2 separate regions of the Homo sapiens genome follow, and region 2 is linked to region 1. Evidence: promoter capture Hi-C in human tissues and cell types (Jung and others, 2019). All regions are on one chromosome and are shown on one strand. The core of a region is centred on a gene start or on the middle of the fragment in contact, and the rest is flanking DNA. Distances in the headings are between cores, read along the strand shown.

Evidence for each region. Contacts are between HindIII fragments. The study calls those that stand out against the background at their distance.
Region 2: a fragment that was not itself captured here is called in contact with the fragment with the promoter of RPUSD2 in region 1 in 1 of the 25 tissues and cell types used here (adrenal gland).

What each region holds. Positions count from the first base shown.
Region 1 is chr15:40,566,000-40,570,953 of GRCh38, forward strand. RPUSD2 (RNA pseudouridine synthase domain containing 2) reads left to right here and starts at 3,300. Exons shown (of 3, transcript NM_152260.3): 1 at 3,300-3,944. The coding sequence starts at 3,339. RefSeq lists enhancers at 1-265, 3,242-3,571, 3,633-4,132, 3,882-3,931 and a silencer at 1,218-1,397. The HindIII fragment of the contact is 11,995 bases long and covers 475-4,954 here.
Region 2 is chr15:41,098,165-41,103,278 of GRCh38, forward strand. All of the region lies in intron 1 of INO80 (INO80 complex ATPase subunit), which reads right to left. Among named protein-coding and RNA genes, the nearest start is that of INO80, 16 kb to the right of the region's middle. The HindIII fragment of the contact is 3,775 bases long and covers 678-4,452 here.

The DNA of each region.
Region 1 (4,954 bases), core at 2,050-4,549:
CAGAGTACATAAAGGAGAGAGTGGTCATAAGAAGTGTGTGTCAGAATGCTTTGTTGTTGTAGTTGTTAAAGGAGATGACCTTTGATATCCTTCAGGGGATAGATACCAGCTTGTTCATTGAGATCGACCCCTCCCCATCCCCAGCTTCCAGGATCAACACCAGTTACTCTCTCCCAAGAAACACGTGATGAAAGACATCAGCCAACCATCAGTAGCCAAGTAACTTGGCTGAGGAAATAGTTCTCACTCCAGCCTGGGTGACAGAGCAAGACTCCGTCTCAAAAAAAAAAAGAAAGAAAGAAAAAGAAAACAACAACAACAAAAACAACATAGTTTTAGGATTACAGATGTGAGCCACTGCGCCCAGCTAAAATACAATTTAAAATTCAGTTCCTGGCCGGGCTTGGTGGCTCATGCCTGTAATCCCAGAATTTTGGGAGGCTGAGGGGGTGTGGATCACCTGAGATCAGCAGTTCGAGACCAGCCTGGCCAACATGGTGAAACCCTGTTTCTACTAAAAATACAAAAATTAACTGGGCGTGGAGGCGCATGCCTGTAATCCCAGCTACTCAGGAGGCTGAGGTAGGAGAACTACTTGAACCCAGGAGGCGGAGGTTGCGCCACCACATCCGGCCTGTAATCCTAACACTTTGGGAGGCCAAGGTGGATGGATTGTTTGAGCCCAGTTTGAGACCACCCTAGGCAATGTGGCAAAACCTCGTCTCTACTAAAAATACAAAAAATTAGCCAGTCATGGTGGCACATGTCTGTCGTCTCAGCTACTAGGGAGCCTGAGGTGGGAGGATCACTTCAGTTTGGGAAGTCAAGGCTGCAGTGAGCCAAAATCGTGCCACTGCACTCCAGCCTGGGTGATGGGAGTGAGATCTTGTTTCAAAACTTGTTAAAATTTTAATTAATTTAAATTTAATTAGCCACATGTGGCTATTGTACAGCACATGGCTAATGGTGATCCTATTGTATAGCACAGGATTGGAGAATATTACATAGTTCACAGAACCTCAAGGTGAGTGGAGAGTCAGGCTTTAGGTCTATACAGCCAGGGACAGTATCTGAATCTCACTGAGAGACTGCTCAGGGAACACCCCACAGCCACTGAACATCTATAGCTGGCATTATTCGTCGATTGGGTACTTGACACAAGAACCTCCCCGACTGTTGGCCTCCCAGATTAGATGCCTCCAATGCTACCTTGTTAGACACGGATTTCACACTGAGCCTGCTTCCGCGGCTGTGTGCCTCTGAACCAAAGCCTCTGTCTAAGAGATAGAGCCCAGGTCAAATGCCTATGTCCAAGCTGCAAGAGAGTGTGGGAAGGCTCTGGCTTCTACCTTTTGGGGGCAGTAATGAAATGTGAGAAATTCCCCACCCAAAAGAAGGGTGTTCGGAAGATGCTGGATGTTTACAGAATATGACAAATGTCTACTCTACATGGTCTATGCCAGTGCTTCTCAAGCTTTAATATGCAGAAAAATCACCTGAGGATCATGTTAAAGTGCAGATTCTCATTTAGTAGGTCAGAAGGGGAGGAGGAACAAGATTCTGCTATGTTTTCTGTCTCCACAGTTTTGCCAGGCACTAGTCCAAGTATTTTACTTGAATTAACTAATTTAATTCTCCCACCCCAATCCTATGGAGCAAAGAGGCTAGCTAAGAATACATACTTTTCTTTTGGATAAGGTTCTGCTTTCACTGTAAATATCTTAATGAAATGATGCACTTGAGAGATGATGTCCCTCCTGTGAAGTAGTTTGGTTCTAACATACCCCACAATCAATGGAGAATTCTACCTCTTATTTCTGGAGGTAGTCAGGAATCAGACTTTTCAGCATATGGAGTTCTGCAGCTGTGGATACCTCAGCTGCAGTCCCTCAGTTAGTTTGGTGAGACTAATGACTTGAAGAAGGAATTTAGCTAAAAAAGATTTCCCTTTCTCCTCTCCAGAATACAAATGCCTAGGATAAGAATTAGACTGTCTTTTTTTTTTTTTTTTTTTTGGCAAACTAACATTGAAATGCCTCCTTATTTGGAAGAATCCCACTCTGGATACCAAAGAGGGTTAGATTCTTGGCCGGGCGCGGTGGCTTACGCCTGTAATCCCAGCACTCATAATATAAAAATTAGCCAGGCGTGGTGGTGCGTGCCTGTAGTCCCAGCCACTCAGGAGGCTGAGGCAGAAGAATGGCTTGAACTCAGGAGGCGGAGGTTGCAGTGAGGTGAAATCGCTCCACTGCACTCCAGCCTGGGCGACAGAGCAAGACTCCGTCTCAAAAAAAAAAAAAAAAAAAAAAAAAAAGAGGGTTAAATTCTTCCATCTCCAGGCACCCTGGAAGTGAGGGCTCAGAGCAATGAGGTTTGGCTGATGGAAGTCCTCCCCTGCAGGACTCTTAACCTTGGAAGAGGGACACAGAGACACAGGGAGATTTAGGGGTCTCCAAGGGGTGGCAGGGCTGCAGGAAAAAGAGTCCTTTGGCACAACATAGTTTCTTGTGTCTACTGCATCCCAACTGGGTTTCTTCCCTGACATGTCTGAAGCCAGGCTCTCAAAAGGCTTGGTTTCCCTTGATTTGGCCCTTTTTCTGAGCCTAGTCTCCAGTTGTCTTGTGAATTCTATGAGGCACTAATATACTTTCCATAATTCTATCTCTGATGAAATTAGCCAGAGTTGGTTTATTTTGCACTTAAGAACCCTCGCCATATATCCTCTGATCTATTTGCAGTTTTAATCTCAGGATGGAAGCATGTGGGAGGCGAATGGGGATCACTAATCCTTCTCATGCTGTTAGGGGGAAACACAGGTGTGAACACATTGCTTCTGGGGTGCTTGTGTGTGTTTTAAATACATATATAACAATCTTACTGAGATACAAGTCACATACTATAATATTGACCCTTTTAAAATATAGAATACAGTGGGTTTTAGTATATTCGCAGAGTTTAGCAATCTTTATTCTGGTTGTTAGTTTTTGTTTTGTCTTAAATAAAGCTCCTTTCAAGCGTTTCTTCAGACCCAAGGGACTACTCGGAATTTACACGACCTACTCCTGTCATGGCCTTTACACGGAGCAATTCCAAGGGTTTCCTTTATAAATAACGTCGTATCTCCCTAATAGGAAGACGTCTGAGTAAGGTCACTTTTGGTGAGACATTTACAGTCTCTCATCTCTAAGCTCACTCAATTCACCTAATTTAATTCGAGCAGCTCACTCATTCGCTCACTTATCGCAGACCCCGCCTCGGGACTGGGCCTCCCTGATTCGCTGGGGCCGAGTGACGTCCTCAGATCGCGACCCTGGGAGTGGAGTGGGGGCAGCGTGGTTATGTGGCTGGACCGCCGCGGATGGCTCAGGGTTCTTGGACATTGGCGCTACGACCTTAGGCGCCCTAGCTTTACCAGGACTTGGAGTGGCGATAAGGGCCCAATGGCAGAAACAGTGTCTACCCAGGTTGGGACAGAGGGCGGGCTGAGGGCTTCGCATCAGCAAAACGGTGACGCTGGTGGCGACGCGAAGGTTGAGCTGTCCCCCGGGCCCCCGAAGCCGGCTGGCCGGGAAGTGGAGCCGGCCCCAGTAGGCGGGGAGCATCCCTCGGCTGCAGCCCCAGGCCCGGGCAAGCATAAGAAGCGGCGGGGCGCAACCAGGGAGCGTGTCGTGCCGCCCCCGAAGAAGCGGCGGACCGGGGTGAGCTTCGGAGATGAGCACTTTGCAGAAACCAGTTATTACTTCGAGGGCGGCCTGCGTAAGGTGCGGCCCTATTACTTTGACTTCCGGACCTACTGCAAAGGTCGCTGGGTGGGCCACAGCTTGCTGCACGTCTTCAGTACCGAGTTCCGAGCTCAGCCCCTGGCCTACTATGAGGCCGCGGTCCGGGCGGGCCGCCTGCAACTCAACGAGAAGCCGGTGCAGGACCTCAACATCGTGCTCAAGGTGGAGTCCTGATGGGGCTGGCCAGAAGCGGGCGAGGAAAAGGGGCCGGGTTTTGTTTTGTTTTGTTTTGTTTTTTAGTCTTAGTAAAGCATAGGTACTGGATTAAAATCATGGCAATTCTAAAGCGTTCTCGCTTTCATTTGGAACACTATTTTAGCCCGTTTCCCACCTCCGCAAGTGGCCAGGGTGTCTGTGCTTCAGGACTCAGCCTGTTTATCCTCTTCCTCAAGGCAGCTTCCTTGTTTCCAAGGGACAGAAGTTGGAATTTTCATAATTCCTTTAAACACCGTCTTGTGGCAAGGGCACTGATCACTTTACCCTGCGTTGTAGATCTCTGTGCAAATAGTAATAATAGGGGCTATCATTTATGTCTCTTTACTGTGTGCTGGGCACAAAGTTAAACATTGTATGTCCACTAATTCTAATGACAGCCTTGTGAAGTAGGTATTGCCACTCCATTTTACCTCTGAGGAAACTAAGGAAACTCACAGGGGTAAGGCTATCAACAGTGCCACTACCAAAGCCTATGTTCCTATAACTACTACTTAAACTATTTAACATAGAGTTATGAGATGTCAGGGATAGAGACTAGAATTGTTTAGCCCAGTGCTTTGACTCCTTTAAAATTCCATCACATCTATGAGGTACCAGACACCCCTGTCAGAAGTAACACTGTTTACCTCTCAGTAACACTAGTTTACCATGGTTGTGAGTGGAGAAAAGGCGATTACAGCATTTGGGGAATGGATGGTTTTGGAGTAACTTGTTCCATTGATCAATCGATTTGCGTCAATATATCATACATTGACGAATTCCCTCTCCTATCCCAATTTCTAAAGCACAGATCTGGTCTAACCCTCACATTCCACAGGAAGCAGAGACCCAGAAAAGATAAATGACTTGCCCAAGAGCATGTAGCGAGCCTGTGGCAAATCCTGGTCTAGAGCCCATATCCCTGGACTTAAGCCTTAGTTTTGTTTGTTCAAGATCGTAATAAGTGATGATTTATG
Region 2 (5,114 bases), core at 1,315-3,814, 530 kb after region 1:
TTTAAAGGCAATCATACATCTTTGAGTTGTCTTCTCTTTTTTTTACAATTTTCTAATATAACTTTCCTATCTAAAACAGTGTAACTTCTAGAAAAACCAGGAGAAAATCTTCATGACTGACCATAAAAAATTCTAGATATGCAATCAAAAGCACAAAAGATCAAAAATTAGCCCATGCGAATTAAAAATGTTTACACTTTAAAATATATCATTAAGAAAATGAAGACAAACTAGGCACAGTGGCTCATGCCTGTAATCCCAGCACTCTGGGAGACTGAAGTGGGAGGATCACTTCAGCCCAGGAAAACAAGATCAACCTGGGCAACACAGTGAGATCTCATCTCTTCAAAAGAATTTAAAATTAGCTGGGCATGGTGGCACAGGCCTCTGGACAAACTATTCGGGAGGCTGAAGTGGGAGGATCACTTACAGCCCAGGAGGTTGAGGCTACAGTGAGCCATGATCTTGCAACTGTACTCCAGCCTGGGTGACAAAAAAAAGAAAAAGAAAATGAAGACAAGCCACAGACTAGAAGATACTTGCAAATCATCTATCTGATAAAGGTCTTGTATCCACATATACAACTTTTTTTTTACACAGTTGTTTGTCAGTGTGTACACATAAAACCTACAACTCTATAAGATAAATAACCCAATTTAAAAATGAGCAAAAGATTTTGAACATTTTACCAACAAAGATGTATGACTAGCTAATAGACACATGAAAAAATGCTAAATATTAATAAATTAAAATTAAAGCACCATACTACTTCATACCCACTAGAATAATAAAAAAGACAGGCTAGACACAGTGGCTCTCACCTATAATCTCAACATTTAGGAGGCTGAAGTGGGTGGATCCCTTGAGCCCAGGAGTTTGAGACCAGCCTGGGCAACATAGCAGGACCGTGTCCCTACAAAAAATTTAAAAATTAGCCAAGTATGGTGATGCGTGCCTGTAGTGCCAGCTACTCAAGAGGCTGAGGTGAGAGGATTGCTTAAGCCCAGGAAGTCAAGGCTGCAGTGAGCTATCATTGTGCCACTGTGCTCCAGCCTGGAGTAAGACCCTGTCTCAAAAAAAAAAAAAAAAAAAAAAAAAAAAAACAAACACACACACACACACACAACAAGAGAGTGAGAGAGAGGGAAAGAAAAAGGGAAAAAAAAAATGTTCCAAACTCCCATTGTGGCGATAGTTCCACAATTCTGTAAATCTACCAAAAATATATTCAAAATATACTGAACTGTATATTTTATTTAAATTATGTGAATTTCATAGTTTGTAAATTGTCAGTCTTGGTAATATAAAGAAAAAAGAATGCTAAAAAATACTTTTGGCCAGGAGCAGTGGCTGAAGCTTGTAATCCCAGCACTTTGGGAGGTGAGGCAGGAGGAGAGCTTGAGCCCAAGAGTTCAAGACCAGCCTGAGTAACATGGCGAGACCTTGTCTCTACAAAAAAATTTAAAAATTAGCTGAGTGTAGTGGCATGCACCTGTAAACCCAGCCACTTGGGAGGCTGAGGAGGGAGGATGGTTTGAGCCCAGGAGGTTGAGACCTCAGTAAGTCATGAACGCACCACTGTACTCCAGCCTGCATAACAGAGTGAGACTATCCAAAAAAAAAAAAACTTTAAATTTCACCTTTTCAAAATGAGACCTAACGTGTACCCACCCACTCCAGAAGATTTCAAAGAAATTGGTTTTTAAAATACAACAAAACTCCCTTAAGAGAACAGCAAATAATTCATCTTGATACATGTATAAATGTAAAACTACTCTGCTTGGCTCCATCCCAAGCTTTTATTACAGAACAATTAATCCATGCTCTAGTTATTTTACCTGATAAGGAAAATGACACTAATTAAGGAGGTATGACTACCAAGTAATACGGAGTGATTCGAAATGAATGGAATATTTTCTTTTCTTTTTTTTTTGAGACAAAGTCTTGTAGCCGAGGCTGGAATGCTGTGGCCCAATCTCGGCTCACTGCAAGCTCTGCCTCCCAGGTTCACGCCATTCTCCTGCCTCAGCCTCCCGAGTAGCTGGGACTACAGGCGCCTGCCACCACGCCAGGCTAACTTTTTGTATTTTTAGTACAGACGGGGTTTCACTGTGTTAGCCAGGATGGTCTCGATCTCCTGACCTCGTGATTCGCCCGCCTCGGCCTCCCAAAGTGCTGGGATTACAGGTGTGAGCCACTGTGCCCGGCCAATGAATGGAATATTTTCAAAACTTATTCCTCAGTACCTATGTGAGTATGAAATCAAAAACAATTTGTTGAAGAAAGATCACAGTTAACTTCTAGTCTTACAATCCTCAATATATGCTCCCTTTTGACACCCAGTATACATCAGTCCTGTCAACTGATTCATCCCAGAAATCATCTTTGCAGCATATCACCACTGATGGCTGAAATGACAGCTGCAATGAATTCCCTTATGTCCACAATACCACCAAAAAAAGGTGCTGTAAGCACAAAATTCTCCACAAGAAGTCCTATGATGACATCTGGAGAACCAAGTTATATTTTTTAAGTGTTCAATTTTTTTCTTTATGGTGGCAAAAGACATAAAACTTACCATTTTAACCATTTTTAAGTGTACACTTCAGTGGCATTATATACATTCACATTGTTGTGCAACCATTACTACCATTCACAATTTTTTCTTTTTTTTTTTTTTTTGAGACAGAGGCTCCCTCTGTCGCCCAGGCTGGAGCACAATGGGGTGATCTCCGCTCACTACAATCTCCGCCTCCTGGGTTCAAGTGATTCTCTCACCTCCAGCCTCCCAAGTAGCTGGGACTACAGGCGCACCCCACCACACACAGCTAATTTTTGTATTTTTAGTAGAGATGGAGTTTTACCATGTTGGCCAGGCTGGTCTCAAACGCCTGGCATCAAGTGATCCACCCACCTCAGCCTCCCAAAGTAGTGGGATTATAGGCATGAGCCACCCACCCGGCTGACAATCATTTCTTAATCACCTTTTAAGATTGCTGGCCTCTCAATTCAGCCTAGTCTTGATTAGCATGTTAAAAGCTGCTGCTGCAATAACCACTTTCATCTCCTCATTTGTCTCTTATTCCCTACAAGGAAACTGCATGGCCATCAACCTGACCCATCTGTTATCGTCCAACTTCAGCAAAACACTTGATAATTCTCAATAACCCTTTTACCCACCTTCTACCAATTGTTTCTCATTCTCTACCAAGATTACTTCAAATCTTTTTTCCCTCTTCCTCAAAATGCTGAAGTCATTCCCCGCTCATCTTGGAAGAGCCTGAAGAGCAAATCATTCCATCCTCTTTTATTTCACCTTAGCTCAATAGTTTCCTCTTACTTGCTGTGATATTTGAGTCACCAACACAAACAGACTTTATTTGTAACTTTTTTTTTTTTTTTTGAGACAGAGTCTTGCTCTGTCACCCAGGCTGGAGTGCAGTGGCGAGATCTCTGCTCACTGCAAGCTCCGCCTCCCAGGTTCAAGCCATTCTCCTGCCTCAGCCTCCCGAGTAGCTGGGACTGCAGGCGCCCGCCACAACGCCTGGCTAAGTTTTTTTGTATTTTAGTAGAGACGGGGTTTCACTGTGTTAGCCAGGATGATCTCGATCTCCTGACCTCGTGATCCACCCACCTCGGCCTCCCAAAGTGCTGGGATTACAGGCGTGAGCCACCGCACCCGGCCTATTTGTAACTCTTAGTCAAGGTGATTCTCCATACTAGTACAAAAGATATGACTATTTCTTGGCGGGCATGGTGGCTCATGCCTGTAATCCCAGCACTTTGGGAGGCTGAGACGAGCAGATTACAAGGTCAGGAATTCGAGACCAACCTGGCTAACACAGTGAAATCCCGCCTTTACTAAAAATACAAAAAAGTAGCTGGGCTTGGTGGCACGCACCTGTAGTCCCAGCTACTCAGGAGGCTGAGGCAGGAGAATCGCTTGAACCTGGGAGGTGGAGGTTGCAGTGAGCCAAGACTGTGCCACTGAACTCCAGCCTGGGCAACAAAGCAAGACTCCATCTCAAAAAAAGAAGATACGACTATGTCTTATGTCACTTATTATGGGTTCATGCCCATGCATTTGCATTTTAAAGTACATACTGTGTAAGTTACTTTATTTATGTTTCCCCAATATATTACAATTAGGGCATCATACTGCTTTTTAAAATTATATATTACCTATAGATTTCATTTCAGGATTTTAAAAAGGGCATATTAGGCCAGGCGCAGTGGCTCATGCCTGTAATCCTAGCACTTTGGGAGGCCGAGGCGGGCAATCACCTGAGATCAGGAGTTCGAGACCAGCCTGACCAATATGGTGAAACCCCATCTCTACTAAAAAATACAAAAATTAGCCAGGTGTGGTGGCGGGTTTGCCTGTAGTCCCAGCAACTTGGGAGCCTGAGGCAGGAGAATCGCTTGAACCTGGGAGGCGGAGGTTACAGTGAGCCAGTATCGTGCACACTGCACTACACCCTGGGCAACAGAGCAAGACTGTCTCAAAGGAAAAAAAAAGGGTGTATTATAAAATATTTGTAATAAAAAAGGAGAGTTGGGTCTGATACAGTTGAGAACCATGCTCTCTGATAACCACTGTTTATCAGAATGAATGAAGTTGATATTGTTGAGTGACTCTTGCTTTTGGATACTCTATTTAATAATCTTTGAAAACTTGGACTATTCCTTAACTCCTTGACTGAAACTTTATTCTAAATGCGGAGTACACCAAAGTTCTGTCATCTATTCCTACGCCTTAGAAAATCTCATCTTCTACCAGGAATTCAATTAACACTGCTGTATGACTGACCCTCTGGCTCTCAACTTGCACAGCATACAATCCACATTTCTAGATGCTTCTAGAAAGGCTTTCTAGATGTTTTCTAGCCCCTACAAACCCAAACTTCTCATATGCCTCCACAGCAGCTAGTTCATCTGTCTTTCCTATTTATATAACAATTATTCAGACTCAAAATCTATGAATCATTTTTTACACCCCCTTCTACTTCTCTCCTGGCATGCAGTGAGTCCCAATGTGTAGTTAATTCTTCTTTGGGAATAATGTCTGGAATATGTCAGTTTCTTCCTATTATCAGTGTTTTCATTTAGCTTCT